2 separate regions of the Homo sapiens genome follow, and region 2 is linked to region 1. Evidence: promoter capture Hi-C in human tissues and cell types (Jung and others, 2019). All regions are on one chromosome and are shown on one strand. Each heading gives the region's core, a stretch centred on a gene start or on the middle of the fragment in contact. The rest is flanking DNA. Distances are from core to core; before and after follow the strand shown. Region 1 holds the start of SCYL1 (SCY1 like pseudokinase 1). Region 2 overlaps CNIH2 (cornichon family AMPA receptor auxiliary protein 2).

Evidence for each region. The method cuts DNA at HindIII sites, captures the fragments that hold promoters and counts their contacts. A contact is called where the count stands out against the background at its distance.
Region 2: a contact is called between a fragment that was not itself captured here and the fragment with the promoter of SCYL1 in region 1, in 2 of the 25 tissues and cell types used here (dorsolateral prefrontal cortex and spleen).

Annotation. Positions count from the first base shown.
Region 1 is chr11:65,521,622-65,526,332 of GRCh38, reverse strand. SCYL1 (SCY1 like pseudokinase 1) reads right to left here and starts at 1,250. Exons shown (of 18, transcript NM_020680.4): 1 at 1,069-1,250; 2 at 619-759; 3 at 290-412; 4 at 1-209. The coding sequence starts at 1,179. RefSeq lists a silencer at 903-1,402. The HindIII fragment of the contact is 17,278 bases long and covers 1-4,711 here.
Region 2 is chr11:66,281,085-66,285,795 of GRCh38, reverse strand. CNIH2 (cornichon family AMPA receptor auxiliary protein 2) reads right to left here. Exons shown (of 6, transcript NM_182553.3): 2 at 3,469-3,537; 3 at 3,016-3,063; 4 at 2,649-2,761; 5 at 2,405-2,548; 6 at 1,590-2,226. The coding sequence ends at 2,199. YIF1A (Yip1 interacting factor homolog A, membrane trafficking protein) reads left to right here. Exons shown (of 8, transcript NM_020470.3): 5 at 38-95; 6 at 260-415; 7 at 830-923; 8 at 1,013-1,216. The coding sequence ends at 1,159. Among named protein-coding and RNA genes, the nearest start is that of CNIH2, 5.3 kb to the right of the region's middle. RefSeq lists an enhancer at 2,847-3,350. The HindIII fragment of the contact is 4,602 bases long and covers 1-3,551 here.

The DNA of each region.
Region 1 (4,711 bases), core at 1-2,500:
CTGCCACTGCTGTCAGCCAACTCCGGGGGGTCATACTGCTCAAGCTCGGGGATCCCCTTGCGGGGAGGTCCCCCACCGTTGCCCTGGGCCGAATACATGTAGTCCAGGCCCCCAAGCTTCCACTCGCCAGCTCGGTCCACGAACACGGCGGCCATGCAGACATTGTTGTGGATGAGGCTGCAGTCGTTGACCAGGAAGCTGAGGGCTTTCTGGGGGCAAAAGGAGCCATCACGCCCCAGCACCTGCAACCCCCCATCCCTGCTCTCATCACCACTGCCCCCCACCTCACCACGATCTGGTGTAGCCCCCAGGAGATCTCCAGCTCCTTCAGGCCACCAGCCTCCACTCTCGCCTTGAGGTATATTCCCAACGGGGTCACAGCCTCTGTCACGACGTGGAGGCATTTTTCTGTCTGGGGAAGGGGACACAGGGTTATCAAGGGCGGAGGGGCAGAGAGGAAGGAGAGATAAGCGACTTGAAGTTGGGAGAGATGGGGAAGAGGAAACCAAATCTGGGGGTGCTGGGGCACATAGGGTGGAAACAGGGCAGGAGGGGAGACAGGAGTGGGTAACCAGGACATCGTGAGGGGCAGAGACGGGCAGGCAAGGCAGCAGGTACCTCCAGTCCATCGATGTAAGCCAGGATGTTGGGGTGCCGTAGAGTTTTGAAGCGCTTGAAGGCAGCTTTGGCCACCTGGGTCTGCTCTTCCGCGCCAGGCTTCACATCATAGACGAAGATGGACACGGGGCTGCCTGTGGCCTAGGGGAGGGCAGCGGGGCCTGAGATGGTCCCAGAGCTGTTGTGTGGCCGGAAGACAAGGGCCCGCAGCCAGGTCTCTCCCCAGGTCAGCCTTAGGGACACTTCGCCGGGCCCACGTGACCCCGGCCCTGTCCGCCTGTCGGTCCCTCGGTCCCTCCGCCCGCCACGTAGGCACTGCCCGCCCCCTCCCCGGCCTGCTACCCCTTGGTTCCGCCGCCACGTCAGGCCGGGCGCAACGCGACGGGGTCGGCGGCGCGGAATAGGCAAGGCCCAGGTCGACCGCGGCCTACGGAGCTCGGCCGCACTCACCTTCTTGCGGCCGCGGTGCAGGGCCCAGGGCCCGGGCAGGCCGCCCTCTGGGGGCTCCGGGATGAGCTCGAACGGAAAGTCCCGGACCGGGTCCCGGGCAAAGAACCACATCGTCCCCACCGCCGCCGCGGGTTCGGGCGCCTTAGCTCCGGGTCCTCCGGCCGCCCGAGCCGGGGCGGGGCGGAGAGGGGGCGGGGCCTGCGTCAGACGGGGGCGGGGCCCGGGGGCCAGGGCGGGGCCTACGTCGGGGCGGAGCAGGACGTGAATTGGGGCGGGGTGGGGCAGAACCTGAGTTGGGGCGGGAAGGGGCGGGGACAAGGGAGGGGCGGGAGAGGGGCGGGGATGGGGGGGCTAGGGAGGGGCGGGGATGGGGGGGCTAGGGAGGGGCGGGGATGGGGGGGCTAGGGAGGGGCGGGGCAGTCCGGGGCGGCGGGCGGTACTAAGATCAGTACTCCGCCGCCGGGTAAGTCACTTAAAACCCTCCAAGCCTGTGAGCCCTTTTATCTAAAGAGGCCTAAATCCTAAAGGATAATAGAGCCTGCCTTCTAGCGTACTGTAAGGATGAGAGCTTAAGAAGGGACAGAGGGATGGGGAAACCGAGGCAAAAAGGGGGAGAGGTAGAAAGACTGACAGGCATGAGAGGGTGCAGTGAGGAGTGAGGCAGAGACCCAGAGAGGGAGACTGGCCCCACGCCAGACACTCTCTCCCACCAGCAAGTGGGTGCCTCCAGGCTCCGGGGAGGAGTCGGTCCTGGTGAAGTGACCATGAGAGAAGCACGAGGAGACGCCCCAGAGAAAGAGCGTGGGTGAGAGGCAGAGAGTGAATCCAAGGTTCCAAGGAGGTCCAGAACCCCGGGGCAGGGGCGGGCACCCAGGGAATGGAGGAAGGAGAGACTGAGGAGGGAAGAAGAAGTGACCCCAGGAAAGGAGGGAGGGAGAAGGAGCAACTGGGCAGGTCTGGAAGAGGCCAAAGGGCTGGGAGGGGACCCTGCTCTCCTGGGCTCAGCTGCCCGGCTCTCAAGCCAACGGATTGCATCTCTCAGTGCCTGTGTAGACAGCCATGGAGTGGTGTTAGCTCAATCAGCACATCACACTGGTGGGGATCCAGCCCCTGAGCTGTGTAGGAGGGGCTGGACAGGCAGTGGTTCTTCTGCTGGTAGGGTCTCAGGACCCAGGCTTGGGGACAGTGCCTCAACCACAGCTATGGAGCACTGGTGAGATTCTGGGACTGGTTATGAAAAGTCTGGTTGGGATGCCTTTGGGAGATAACTCAAGGGCAGAGATGCCACAGTGAGACGGTGCTGGGTTTCAATCACGGTTCAGCCCCTCATTGGATGTGAGAACTCACACAGTTCCCTTTGGGTGCGTTAGGTCCCCCATCTATAAACTGGGGTGAGGGCCAGGCACAGTGGTTCACGCTTGTAATCTCAGCACTTTGGGAGGCCGAGGCTGGAGGATCACCTGAGGTCAGGAGTTCCAGGTCAGCCTGACCAACATGTTTGAAGGGGGCCTGCCCCTCCACACCTGTGGGTATTTCTCGTCAGGTGGAGACAAGAGACTGAGAAAAGAAATAAGACACAAAGTATAGAGAAAGAACAGTGGGCCCAGGGGACCGGCACACTCAGTATACGAGGACCTGCACCGGCGCTGGTCTCTCAGTTCCCTCAGTATTTACTGATTACTATTTTCACTATCTCTGCAAGGGGACTGCGGCAGAACAGGGTGATGGTGGGAAGAAGGTCAGCAGGAAAACATGTGAGTAAAGGAATCTGCATCATAAATAAGTTCAAGGGAAGGTACTGTGCCCGGATGTGCACGTAGGCTGGATTTATGTTTCTCTTTACCCAAACATCTCAGTGTAGCAAAGAGTAACAGAGCAGTATCACCGCTAGCATATCTCACCTCCAGCCATAGGGCAGTTTTCTCCTATCTCAGAATAGAATGACTGGTGGGCTTTACACCAAGACATTCCATTCCCAGGGACATACGGGAAACAGAGGCCTTCCTCTTATCTCAACCGCAAAGAGATCTTCCTCTTTTACTAATTCTCAGCACAGACCCTTTACGGGTGTCGGGCTGGGGGATGGTAAGGTCTTTCCCTTCCCACAAGGCCATATCAGGCTGTCTCAGTCGGGGAGACAATACCCAGGCTTTCTCGGGCAGAGGTCCCTGTGGCTTTGCACAGTGCATCATGTCCCTGGTTAATAGAGAATGGAGAATGGCGATGACTTTTACCAAGCATACTGCTTGCAAACATATAGTTAACAAGGCACATCCTGCACAGCCCTAAATCCCTTAAACCTTGATTCAATACAGCGCATGTTTCTGTGAGCACAGGGTTGGAACTAAAGTTACAGATTAACAGCATCTCAAAGCAGAAGAATTTTTCTTAGTACAGATCAAAACGGAGTTTCTTATGTCTTCTTTTTTTCTGCATAGACACAGTAACAGTCTGATCTCGCTTCCTTTCCCCCACATATGTGTGGGCGGAGGAATACCTAGGTGCGGAGGCAAGAGATTGAAGGCACAAACTGTTTCAGTATAAAAAAGAAAATAGTTAGAATAAGAATAGTCATAATACAAATTAGATATAGAGATGGTCATGAACAATTATCAATCATTGTTATAAGCATTATTAATCATTAGCTTTTAATATTACTCTTTGTTGCATTACTAATATAACCTAGGAATAACCGGCGGGTATAGGGTCAGGTGCTGAAGGGACATTGTGAGAAGTGACCTAGAAGGCAAGAGGTGAGCCTTCTGTCACGCCCGCATAAGGGCCTCTTGAGGGCTCTTTGGTCAAGCGGTAACGCCAGTGTCTGGGAAGGCACCCGTTACTTAGCAGACCGCGAAAGGGAGTCTCCTTTCCTTGGAGGAGTCAGGGGACACTCTGCTCCACCAGCTTCTTGTGGAAGGCTGGATATTATCCAGGCCTGCCCGCAGTCATCCAGAAGCCTAAACCCCTCCCTGTGGTGCTGTGCTTCAATGCTCACGCTCTTTGTCCACTTTCATGCTCCTCCCATACTCCTGGTTCGTCTTTGAAATTCGTAGTAGATAGAGGTAGAAGAAATAGTGAAAGTCTTAAAGTCTTTGATCTTTCTTATAAGAGCAGAGAAGAAAACGCTGACGTATGCTGCCTTCTCTCTCTGCTTCGGCTACCTAAAAGGGAAGGGCCCCCTATCCTGTAATCACCTGACCTGCTTCACCTTGTCAATCACTTAGAAGATTCACCCTCCTTACCCTGCCCCCTTGTCTTGTATACAATAAATATCAGCGAGCCCAGCCATTTGGGGCCACTACCGGTCTCCGCGTCTTGATGGTAGTGGTCCCTGGGGCCCAGCTGTTTTCTCTTTATCTCTTTGTCTTGTGTCTTTATTTATTACAATCTCTAGTCTCCACACAGGGGGAGAACACATGCTAAGCCCCGTAGGGCTGGACCCTACACATATGTTGAAACCCCGTCTCTACTAAAAACACAAAAATTAGCCAGGTGTGGTGGTGGGCACCTGTAATCCCAGCTACTGGGAAGGCTGAGGCAGGAGAATCGCTTGAATCTGGGAGGTGGAGGTTGCAGTGAGCCGAGATCGCACCACTGCACTCCAGCCTGGACGACAGAGCGAGACTCCATCTCAAAAAAAAAG
Region 2 (4,711 bases), core at 1-2,500, 760 kb before region 1:
GAAGCCAAGCTGATGGCATCTCTCTGGCACTTGGCAGCGATGGCCTTCATTACTTACGTGCTCCTGGCTGGGATGGCACTGGGCATTCAGAAAAGGTCAGTGCCAAGCCCCTCCCTTACCCTCCCCTCCCTGTGAGCTCTTCTCCCAACCTCCCTAGGGCATATGTGGTGGTCCCCAGCTCACCCTCTGTTGCCCCAGTCTCTCTTCCTCACCCCTGCCTCAGGATGCCTGGCTCTGAGCCACCCCTGCTTTGGCGCAGGTTCTCCCCGGAGGTGCTGGGCCTGTGTGCAAGCACAGCGCTGGTGTGGGTGGTGATGGAGGTGCTGGCCCTGCTCCTGGGCCTCTACCTGGCCACCGTGCGCAGTGACCTGAGCACCTTTCACCTGCTGGCCTACAGTGGCTACAAATACGTGGGGTGAGCACTTGTGGGCCAGGGGGAGGTGGCCTTGGATCTGGGCCTGCATAGCTGTAGCCTCGAACTGTGACCCTGGACATGTCTCGGCCCCTAGTGACCTCTAGCACTGCTCTGTTAAGAGGGAGCAGCTGTCTCCAGCAGTCTCCTGAGGATCTGCGTGCCATGCAGAGGTTGGGGAGGTGTTGAGAGTCACTCTGCGAGTCTTGGGGAGAGAAGGGGGTCTCAGATCCAGGTCCTGGGGCTGAGTCCTGGGCCTTCCATATCCCTTTGGGGTCTGGGTCCCTGTGGGGACAGATTGAGAGTAAAAGGTGCTGTGGGAGGTGGGGTCTAGCTGGGCTCTGGGCGTTGGGGGTAGGGCCAATCTCAGGCCTAGACCCCTGGGGGTCACCAACCCTTTCCTCCTCCCACCCCCAGAATGATCCTCAGTGTGCTCACGGGGCTGCTGTTCGGCAGCGATGGCTACTACGTGGCGCTGGCCTGGACCTCATCGGCGCTCATGTACTTCATTGTGAGTCTGGTGCACCCCCCCATTCCCCTGCCTTCACTTGAGGGCAAACCTCCCCCTCCTGGCCAGGCTTCAGTTCTCCTTTCTTCCAGGTGCGCTCTTTGCGGACAGCAGCCCTGGGCCCCGACAGCATGGGGGGCCCCGTCCCCCGGCAGCGTCTCCAGCTCTACCTGACTCTGGGAGCTGCAGCCTTCCAGCCCCTCATCATATACTGGCTGACTTTCCACCTGGTCCGGTGACCCCCTGGCCCCAGATGGCACTGAGTTTTTCATTCATTGAAGATTTGATTTCCTTGACTTTGTCTGACCCTTGTTCCTGGGGCCTGATGGGGAGCTACAGATACCTCTGCGCCTCTGCATTGCCCAGGGGATCGGGCTTGGGGCCGTCTAGGAAGAAGGTGGACCCAGGGAGGGCTTCATGACTTTGGTGACCTTGATACTGCCTTGTAAGGGTTTCAGCAGCCTCAGCTGGGAAAGAGAAGATGGAAGGAGGCTGCTGAGGGGACCTGGAAGGCGTCTGATCCCTCTGGGGGGCTCCAGCAGGGTCTGTGGGCTAGTGGGGTGAGACAAGCCAGGCTGGGGATTCAGCTTAGGGCTGCCCCCTATACAGTCCCTGTAATCGGCCCCCATCTCCTCTTCAAGCTTTCCAGGAGCAGAACCGGGGCCCACATATTTGCAGTAGTTTATTCATATTTTGTCACAAATGGCCGGGGAGGGGGTGCCGGACTCCTCCAGGCGACATAGAAAATAGGTCCAAGAGACAAGGTGGGCTGAGGTTGGGGCAGATGGAGACAGGGCTGGAGAAAGAGCCTGGGGGAGAGGGGAGGGCAGACTAGGGGTGGGGCTGCCCCCCTGCTGAGCCTGCTCATTCCCGGTGCGGGTACCCCCCCACCTGCAGGGGGAGCCTCAGGGTGGGGGTGGAGGGGGATGGCCCAGAATTTCCAGGGTCAAGCTCTGCCCCTTGGCAGGGCCCAAGTTTCCCCCGAAATGGACAAGGCCGGAGGTCCTGCCCCTTCCAGGAATGACTGCCATGCCCACAGGCTGGCAGAGGAGCCCCTGCCCCTGTTTAGAGCTCTGCCCAGCCGCTCTAGTCCAAGGGGGAGGGCTCTGAAGGCGGGGTGGGGGGGGTTCCCCGCAGCAGCAGTTTGGGGGTTGGAGAGGCTGGGGGCACCAGTGCCCCCTCCCTCCCCAGGGCTGAGGCCTCTGCGGCCAAGGGGCAGGGCTGGGGGTGCACAGGCGTCCGGTCCGTTCTGGGCTCGCTCCCTGGCCGGCTTCCCCCTTAGAAACTCACCAACGTATAAACCATACTGTAGGAAGATGAGCCAGTGAGCCTAGCCCTGCACACACACAGCCACCCAGATGCCCACCTGGTCACACCCTGGGCTGCCCTCAGTCCTCAGGGGCAAAAGGCAGGAACTTGGGATTGGAAGCGTGATGCTGGGACATCCCTTCCCTGAGTTCTGACTGCTGTGGGCAAGGCCTCACCTGTACAGGTAATAGAAGAAGGAGAGCAGGTAGAAGGCAAGTTTGCACCAGGACTCCTTCTGGCAGTAGTTGAGAATGTCAGCATTCATGATGGAGACCGCATCATACATGACCTCAGAGCCATCTGCAGGACGGTGGAAGTACCTGGGGCAGACAGGGGCCTGAGTGTCTGCCATCAGGACTCCCACCCCCATCCTGCCCCTGTTCCCCATCTCAGCCTCCCCAAGGCAGCTGCTACCCTCACCTCCAGAGGTGGTAGAAGAGGAGGGGGATGTTGAGGCCCAGGGTCACCCACTCTGCTGCACACAGAAACATCAGACAGAAGAGGCCGTGGATGGAGTATTCTGGGACCACCAGCTGGGGGAGTGAGGGTGAGAGGTCAGCGGCCTGGTGCTATGACAGACCAGCCTTCAAGGGGACAGAGAGGAGCTGGGGTTTGGGAGGTGCCCACCCACCGTGACCTCTGGGGATTAAAAGGCCTCTGGCTTCCCACTCCCTCCCAAGTAGAGTGGATCAAACAGGCCCAAAGCAGGGGAAGGCCTGGTTCTGGGCCACAGACAGTGGGGGCAGCGCTGGGCTAGGAGCCTCCTGCCCCCAGCCCTGACACTGACCTTCCTCAGGAGGCAGCAGATGCGTTCGATGTTTTTTAAACGCTCGCGCTGTTGGGGGAAGGAAAAGGCCGCGATGGGGTGGCGGAGAAGCAGGTACTGGAGCAGCTCCCACCGCTCCACATGTGGCCGCCAGGGGGCGCCAGAGCGATCTCTGCGGCACTGTCGGCACGGCCGGGAAGCAGCCGCGCCGTCCCCATGGCGACCGTCACCATGGAAGGGCCTTCACCCGCGTCTCCATGGCAACGGCCCAGAGCCTGGCAACCACCGCCCCGCCAAGAGGAACTCAGCCCTGAGCCCGCGCCAGGTGTTTGCTGGGGGCGGAGACAGAGAGGAAGGGGGCATGGCCGTAGGCCCCCCACCCCACCCCCGTCTTCCCGTCTCCCACCCCCAGCCCACGACAGATGGAAAGACAGACGGACGGACACACCTCGGCACAGCACATGTATCACTTACTGCCCGCGCAGGGTTCCCCTGGTCGATGGGGTTCTTGAAGTCGGTCCGCAGCTCATCAAAGGCTATGATCTGGGGGAGGGGCGTGTGCCCGTCAGGGTTGGGGCAGCAGCTTATGGCCTTCCCCCAAGTCCTTCTGTGGGATAGTTTACTGAAGAGGACCAGCCAGGTGGAGCTTGTTGCAAAGGTGGAGAAACCGAGGTCCAGGGAGGAGCAGGGCCTGGTCCAAGGTCATTACAACAGTCCAGAAGGGAACCCTAGCGTCTGGATGCCCAGTTCAGGCCCATGTCCACTACACCCCCTTCCAAAACATCCCAAGACATGGCTTCGTGTCTGCCCTGCCAAGTCTCAGGCCCTGTGCTGAGCACTGGGGCTCCAGAGGCCTGGGATGCAGCCCCTGCCCAGGAGGAACCCAGGCCCAGAGGGATGATCACTCTGCCTTCCAGGTGATCAGGGTTTGGGGTACAGGGAGGACCTGGAGTGGGCGCTTAACCCTGTGTGGGGGGTGAGGGAGTTCAGGCTGGACTCGGAGTAGGTGTTGGTGAGCAAATGGGGGAAATGCAGTCCAAGCAGTAGAAGGTGCAATGGCAGAGGGGTGAAAGGTCAGGAGACATTCAGGAGGCTGCGGGTTTCATGGGGCTGGCGTGACAGCGCAGCGAGCAGGAAGAAAAGAGAGAGTGGTGGAAGAGGAGCTGGAGAATTCAGCAGAGCCAGACATGGGCGCCCTGTGAGGCCAGAGCAGGAGTTTGGACTTACTTTAACACAAAAATTTTGGGGGGAGGCATTGAAGAGTACACAGCAGCAGAGTGGGGTGGTCAGGTCCATGTCTTAGGATTGGTCCATGTCTCAGGATTGGTGGGGCAGGAAATCCGAGCTCACTGACAGTCACAGCTGAGATCTAAGTGGTGCTTCTCCTGGCCGGTATGTGGATTCACTCATTTAATTCTTAACAACCTTATGACTTAGGTACTAGTTTTATTTTCATGTCTGTTTTGCAGATGAGGAAGCTGAGGCAGGTTAAGTGACTTGTCCAGGGCCACACGGCTGGTTAGTGGATTCTAACCCAGTGTGACTCCAGAGTTAAAATTCCTAACCACTGTGTCATACTCAGGCCAGACCAGCAAGGGGACGGTTTGGAGGGTTAGGGGCAGGGCTGATGGTGGTCTGAGTGAGGAGAGTTGTAGTGGAGACGGAAGGCGTGCATGGGATTCTACAGCTCTTTAGGAGCCAGACTCCAGAGGGTTCA